Linked DNA regions of Homo sapiens: region 2 is linked to region 1. The links are contacts of gene promoters, found by promoter capture Hi-C in blood cells and fetal thymus (Javierre and others, 2016). All regions are on one chromosome and are shown on one strand. The core of a region is centred on a gene start or on the middle of the fragment in contact, and the rest is flanking DNA. Distances in the headings are between cores, read along the strand shown. Region 1 holds the start of ANKRD44-AS1 (ANKRD44 antisense RNA 1). Region 2 holds the start of FAM117B (family with sequence similarity 117 member B).

The links. The method cuts DNA at HindIII sites, captures the fragments that hold promoters and counts their contacts. A CHiCAGO score of 5 or more calls a contact.
Region 2: the fragment with the promoter of FAM117B here is called in contact with the fragment with the promoter of ANKRD44-AS1 in region 1 in 1 of 17 cell types (naive CD8 T cells); the score reaches 6.5 in naive CD8 T cells.

The regions. Positions count from the first base shown.
Region 1 is chr2:197,196,418-197,200,065 of GRCh38, forward strand. ANKRD44-AS1 (ANKRD44 antisense RNA 1) reads left to right here and starts at 1,574. Exons shown (of 2, transcript NR_135584.1): 1 at 1,574-1,672; 2 at 2,501-2,856. The region is part of intron 1 of ANKRD44 (ankyrin repeat domain 44); the gene reads right to left. RefSeq lists an enhancer at 2,620-2,689. The HindIII fragment of the contact is 4,177 bases long and covers 1-2,771 here.
Region 2 is chr2:202,632,955-202,636,843 of GRCh38, forward strand. FAM117B (family with sequence similarity 117 member B) reads left to right here and starts at 2,015. Exons shown (of 8, transcript NM_173511.4): 1 at 2,015-2,834. The coding sequence starts at 2,234. RefSeq lists silencers at 2,053-2,282, 2,473-2,522, 2,623-3,062. The HindIII fragment of the contact is 4,588 bases long and covers 1-3,580 here.

The DNA.
Region 1 (3,648 bases), core at 324-2,823:
CAATAAAAAAGTATTCCTTATAAAAAATAGCAGAAAATGATCCATAACTACAGAAGTATCTTCTTGTGGTCATGAGTAATTTTAATTTTTGAGAATCTCACAAATTGGAAGCTAAATAAAGCAATTCAAGTGTCCTTTAAAAACAACAACAAAATCAGCATGTAGAAATGAAAGGTACTCTCAGAAAGGTGGCAATCTCCTGCTACATTTGAGGAGGCTGGAACTACTGTATACAAGATATATGGATTAACTCAGTCACATTAAATCATTCATGATTTAGGCAACTCCAGATTGGGTTTGTCTAAAATCTGTTAGCACCTGGGTTCTTTCCAAACACCAGCAAGCAATTTTTACACAATCAGGTCTTTCCAAAGCCCATGACAATTTTCCTTTAAACCCTCTCCTTCCCTTCTACTGTTCTTTTCTTTGAATTCCACGTGCATTCTTGGAAAGACAGCAAGCAGTTAAACTCTCACCACCTCTCCACAGGTGAGGGACTAGGGACATGTGTAAAACGGAGTCACCTTCCTGTTCTGGCCATTGTCAATTTTTTTTTTCCTAAGGCATCTTGTTATAGCAACCATTCTAAAATTGTTATAGCAACCATTCTAAAATTTAAGGCAGTGGGTTGATCAGGACCTGAATTAGTTTCTGCCTGAGATGACTGGAAGGTCCCCTACTCCCTCCCCAGCCAGAAAAAGTCACATGGAATGAAAATCTATTAGAGAATCCCCTCAGTGTAGTCTTTCAGGAAGCATCTTCTCATTTCCCCATCCAAAATCATGGTAAGGACATCCAGTGACAGATGTCAAAGGGAAAGGATAAGGCAGCAGGAAGAGAGAGGAGCCTAAGAGACTGGAAAACATTCGATAATATAAAATGGGAAAATGGGAAATTCTGCAAAAAAAAAGAAGTCATATCATATTTCCTTTCACAGACACCAACCCAGTGCGTAGCTCCTTTATTTCTTTACACACTACCCCCTCCAACAGGGGATAAAAGATATGTTTTCTAAAACTTAATTTGGTACATTTCAGATAACCACATTCAATTCAACAAAGATGTATTAAGCATAAGACATTTACTGAGCATAAGAAATTCAGACACTGGAGGCCGGGCGCAGTAGCTCATGCTTGTAATCCCAACACTTTGGGAGACCAAGGCAGGCGGATCACTTGAATCCAGGAGTTCCAGACCAGCCTAGACACATGGTGAAACCACATCTCCACTAAAAATGCAAAAATTAGCTGGGCACGGTGGCGCACACCTGTAGTCCCAGCGACTCGGGAGGCTGAGGTGGGAGAACCAACTGAGCCCAGGAAATTGAGGCTGCAGTGAGCCATGCTCACACCATTGCACTCCAGCCTGGGTGACAGAGTGAAATCCTGTCTCAAAAAAAAAAAAAAAAAAAAAGAAAGAAAGAAACACAGAAAAAGAAAAAGAAAGAAAGAAATTCAGACACTGGAATGTCAGAGTCAGTCTCTCCCTTGATGAGGTTACCAAGGTGTAACAGGAAGTATACAAATACGCACAGCTAGAATGTAAGGCACAGGCCGCAGGAGAAGTGCATGGAGAAGGGAGAGAAATTGTACCTGGCCTCCTGAAAGACGCAGCCTCTGAAATGAATATTGAAGACTGGGGAGGATTTAAACAGGTAGAGACGGATGGAATGGTAAGGGACTTTCCCTTCTTCATATTCAGAAGGCTGTGAGCAGAAGCTAGGGAGCCTGAACATACACAGGGAACAGTTTCATTTGGCTGGAGGAGGGGAGAAGTGAGGTAAGCTGAGTAGTAGACAGGGATCCTATCATGGAAGGTCTTGAATACCAAGCTAAGAAATTTGAGCTCTCTTCTGTGGAACTGGGGGAGCAGTGGGTGGTTTTTGAGCAGGGGAGTGACCTAAGATTTGTGCTTTAGAACAATCACTCTAAAAATGGATTGTATGATGACCTGGAGGAAAAGGCTGGAGTGTCATAACAAGTTAGGAAACTGCAATAATAGTCTGCACAAAGGGCTCTGGGGATGGAGTACCGCTCAGTTGTCAGAGGAAGCATTCTTCTGGTGGTAATATGTGAATCTAAAAGGTAAATTTGACCGGGCATGGTGGCTCACGTCTGTAATCCCAGCACTTTGGGAGGCCGAGGCAGGTGGATCACCTGAGGCCAGGAGTTTGAGACCAGCCTGGCCAACATGGTGAAACCCCGTCTCTACTAAAAATACAAAAAATTAGCCAGGCATGGTGGCGTGCCCCTGTAATCCCAGCTACTCGGGAGGCTGAAGCAGGTGAATCGCTTGAGCCCGGGAGGTGGAGGTTGCAGTGAGCTGAAATCGTGCTACTGCACTCCAGCCTGGGCGACAGCAAGACTCCATCTCGAAAAATAAAAAATAAAATAAAATAAAATAAAATGTAAATCTAGCTCCACCTTTAATGTAGCAAGGGCTAGCCTCCTCAGGAGTGGCTGCCTACATTCAAAACGATTCTCACCAACTTCTTCCACAGGACACAGGGCTCGGGAGCAGCGCCAGCCCGACATCGGCGGAGGAGCACCGGAAGTTCTGCAGCACTGGCTTTCTTTGCTCTTCCACCTATGCAAGCTCCTTCTCTCTTGTGGCTTGCCGAGCCTGGTTAGCTCTGAGACCGGAAGTTCTGAAGTCAGCTGGCATCCTACATCTGTGCAACCTACTTCTCTCCCCATCCCACCACAGAAACCAGAGCCTCGAGGCTTTTGGCTTGGGTGCTGCCTTCACAGTTTAGGTTTTGGTAAGAAGAAAGCTTATCTTCATGTCATGAGAAAGAAAAAAAAATGTATCTTTACGTAACGAGCTGAAAGAACAAAACAAGTATACCTAAGCCAAGTACATGCTATCTTTATTTCTTTATTTCCACACTGAAATTTAGTCAGGGATAAAACTTACTTTTTTAATCACACGAAGTTTGAAAAATAGGAAGTACTATGGGAAACACCTAATGCATCAAAACCCCTGTGCATTTTATCTTTGTCTTATGTTTGCTGGATTTTAATCTTAGTAGGTTTCCTGTTGCAACAATACAAAAACAGATAAAGAAAAAACTTAATAACCTTTCCTACCACAAATGTGAACAGCCCGTGTTCTTGTTGGTAGGTACAGATACAGATATATGAGATTATCGTTATTTATTATCAGAAAATGGGATTTTACTATTTCCCACACACACACTTTTTTTGAGATGGGGGTCTTGCTATATTGTCCAGGGTGGTCTCAAATTCTTGGGTTCAAGCGATCCTCCCACCCAAGTATCTGTAATCCAAGTAGTCTGGATTACAGATGCATACCACCATGCCTGGCTTATTTCCCTCTCTTACAATTTGCAAAAATAATGATGTACTGAGGACATCCCCCAGGTCGATAGCTACAGGATTAAATCATTTCTCTTAATAACTATATATAATACTATTCCATTGTATGGATATGCCATAACATATTCAATTATTCCCCTTCGAATGGGCATTTGGGTTGTTTCTAGTTTGTACCACAACAAACAAGCCTCTATCAGTGCTTATCCACATTGCACAGAGAAGTGCTACCAGAGCCAAAAGCATTTTCTGAGTACCTACAATATGCTATTTTTATGAAATATACAAAAGAAATGTGTGACATAGTCCTTTC
Region 2 (3,889 bases), core at 765-3,264, 5.4 Mb after region 1:
GAGAAAGGGGAATGGATGGTAAGGAGAGATGTGGGTCTCTGAATCACATGGAGACTCTGGAAGTGCTGACCATCTTCTACACACCACATTCTCATATCATCCTTGGTTAATAATCATAACAACAGTATGAAGCACATGGTACTGTTTAACTGCATTTTACAGATAAGGAGACTGGCTAGTGATCCACTCAAGGTCACAGAGTAAGTGGTGGTCATGGGATTTTAATTTCCTCTCTAGGTCTTTTTTTTTTAATTTTTTTTTTTTTTAAGACAGAGTTTCGCTCTTGTTGCCCAGGCTGGAGTGCAATGGAACGATCTCGGCTCCTTCCAACCTCTGCCTCCCGGGTTCAAGCGATTCTCCTGCCTCAGCCTCCCGAGTAGCTGAGATTACAGGCATGTGCCACCACGCCCGGCTAATTTTGTATTTTTAGTAGAGACGGGGTTTCCTCCATGTTGGTCAAGCTGGTCTCGAACTCCCGACCTCAGGTGATCCGCCCGCCTCAGCCTCTCAAAGTGCTGGGATTACAGGCATGAGCCACCACACCCGGCCTCCTCTCTAGGTCTTTAAAAGCCTTCCACCTCACGCCTGTAATTCCAGCATTTTTGGAGGCCGAGGTGGGCGGATCATGAGATCAAGAGATCAAGACCACCCTGGCCAACATGGTGAAACCGCCTCTTTACTAAAAACAGAAAAATTACGGGGCGTGGCGGCACGCGCCTGTAATCCCAGCTACTTGGGAGGCGGAGGCAGGAGAATTGCTTGAACGCGGGAGGCGGAGGTTGCACTGAGCCGAGATTCGAGCCAGTGCACTCCGCCACTGCACTCCAGCCTAGGTGACAGAGAGAGACTTCTTCTCAAAAAAAAAAAAAAAAGGCCTTCCACCACCGCGCAAAGGGACCCAGTAGGATTTCAGGTCCAGAGTGAATCATACTATGCCCTCCACTCCCACATTTTTACACGACGAAATCTGTCTAGCATGTACAACTAATAAAAATAGTAGAGGGAAAAGAGGTCATGGATAGGCAATTTATAGCCAGACAGGTGGGAGTGTAGGTTTTGGCTCCACCATTTTTTATTTTCTTGATGAGGAGCCCTTTAGGTCATTTTAGAAATAGTGTCACTGCCTGCCTTCCCGAGTCTTTGCCACACCAAAGACTTGTTTCCTCCGCTAGACAAAAATATGGATGGCTGTCCCAGTTCTGTCTCAAACAATGATCGTGTAGAATCAAATAAGGCCCTCTGTAAACTATAGCACTTTACAAACTGGTAAGGTAGCAGCCATCCTTCCAAGGTATCAGGGAACAGCGAAGCAGCTGATTAAAATAGTCTTGATTACTTGAGATACAGGAGGGTAGGAATAACATGTGGTAACTGAACTCTATAGATACTATCTAAAATCGCATTCTAACAGGCAAGTTTAATCTTTCTGAGATTTGCCTCTTTGTAGAGCTCTAAAAAATAAAAGGAGAGGGGCGTAAAATGCCAGTAAGATTAGTTAAATTTCTTCTCCTTTTGAGCCCTGCCCATAGGTAGATGGAATTAGGGCAGAACAAAAACATTAAGAATAAAAGCCCGAACGAGATGCGCGTACAGGTGAACACAAGTGAACACTGGGGTAAGGAAATGAGTTATGCGGAAAAGGCTTCAGACCATCCCTGGGAACTGCTCCGGGTCTGGACATTTCCTTTGGCAACCTTCCAGAGTCTGAGTCCCCAGGGCTCCCCCCGGCGGGAAAGGAAAGGCGCGCGTGGCTAGGCGCGCGCGTACACGGGCACTCACGTGTACACACACACGCGCGCACACTACACATACACACAGGGCCCATTTCCTCCGCTCCCTCCCCGCGGGGGGCGGGTCTCTTTCTCTTTAAAGAGCAGACGGTCTCCGCGCACACCCAGGCTCTCAAGGCCTCGGGGGCCCGGGACCCGAGCTGCTCGTAGCCAATGGGAGCAGTGGAGCGGCTCGAGCGCGGCTGACGCTGCACCAATGGGCGATCGTGGGGGGCGGGGGCAGCAGAGGAGACACTATTGTTGATGAGGAGCGGCGGCGGCGGCGGCGGCGGCTGCACCACCTCGTTGCTGCCTGCCCCGGCCCGGTCTCCCCCTGCACCCCGGAGTCCGGCTTCGTCACCCCGTCTTGGGGGGCCTGCCCTCCGGCCTCGAGAATCCTCCCCCTGCAGCCCAACAACAACAAAACCCCCCGTCTCGCCCAGTCACCGGGGAGGGGGGGGACCATGTCCCAGCGGGTGAGGCGCAATGGGTCCCCCACGCCGGCCGGCTCCCTTGGGGGTGGTGCGGTGGCCACGGCCGGGGGACCCGGGAGCCGCTTGCAGCCCATGAGGGCGACGGTTCCGTTCCAGCTGAAGCAGCAGCAGCAGCAGCAACATGGCAGCCCCACGCGGAGCGGCGGCGGCGGCGGCGGCAACAACAACGGTGGCTGCTGTGGTGGCGCCTCAGGCCCCGCAGGCGGCGGCGGCGGCGGTGGCCCGCGCACCGCCTCGCGCAGCACCAGCCCCACGCGCGGCGGCGGGAACGCGGCCGCGCGCACCAGCCCCACGGTGGCCACGCAGACGGGCGCGTCCGCGACGTCCACGCGAGGCACCAGCCCCACGCGCAGCGCCGCGCCTGGAGCTCGCGGGAGCCCCCCACGGCCGCCGCCGCCGCCGCCGCTGCTGGGCACCGTGTCGTCGCCCAGCTCGTCGCCCACCCACCTGTGGACCGGCGAGGTGAGCGCGGCCCCACCCCCAGCCCGCGTCCGGCATCGGAGGAGGTCTCCGGAGCAGAGCCGAAGCTCGCCGGAGAAGAGGAGCCCCAGCGCCCCGGTTTGCAAAGCAGGTAAGTGCTGGGGGTCGCGCAGCAAGGGGGAGGCGGCTGCGGGAAGGGGTCCCGGGCGCGCGCTGCAATCGCGCGGGGACTGCAGAGCTGCCGCGGAGCCCGGGTGGCTGGGGGCGGGGCTGGGGGCGGTGCCGGGCGGTGGGGGACCCGGCAGTGCGGCCCCGCCTTTCCCGGGCCTACCCTACGCCCCGCCCGCCCGCCCGCCTCATTCACCCCTCTGCCCGCCCCGCACGGCTCCCTGGTGGTGGAGGTGCAGCGGCTAAACCTTGGGCTTGAGCTGATGAGTGTTAATGATAAACCTGGCTTCCTGGCCTTACTCCTGGAGGAGTCGTTACTGCTTACCCTCCCTTGAGGGTGAGGCTAGGAGTGGTTTGTCACTTTGTTTTAGGGACAAGGTTAATGTTGGCATAGCCCATATCTGCTGCTGCTAAGTATTTCTGTTCACAAAACAGTTTCAGATCTGGGGTACTGAATGCATTAGCAGTGGCAGATTTGGATCACTGAACAGAGGAGGCTGAGAACCGTGTTTTAGCATTTCCTAAGACTTGATAAATGGGTAGCAAGAAGTGAAAATTAAACAAGATTCCTTAGGAAGGTTTATGGGTTTTGTCTGAGGCTCTGGGTGTATTTCTGATTTTGTGTACTGATTCTGTGTTTTGAATGTAGAAAAACAGAATCCAGTGTTTTGTCTCCATCTTGTTATTGTTTTAGGGAGCTAACATTCGTTGTTTTTCTGTTTACCTGGAAGCTTTCTTGGGGAAGGTCCTGAATGGAGCTGTTGGGTGCCAATGGAGTCATTCATAAAGAGTAACTCAAAAGAGAAATTCAAATTGTGGGAAGTGGAAAGGAATAAAATTTATAATCTTGTTGCCTTAAGGAAAGAAATGGGTGGTTTTTACTTACGTATTCATTTTTGTCAACATATATCTTTGTCTTTCCTTGTCTGGGGAACTTCTGTTAGAATTTTCCAGGCAGAATGGTTGGGAATTTCAGGAAACAAATTCAGATGAAATAGTTTCCGAAATGGAAGGAATAGGATGACTCTTTCTTACTAT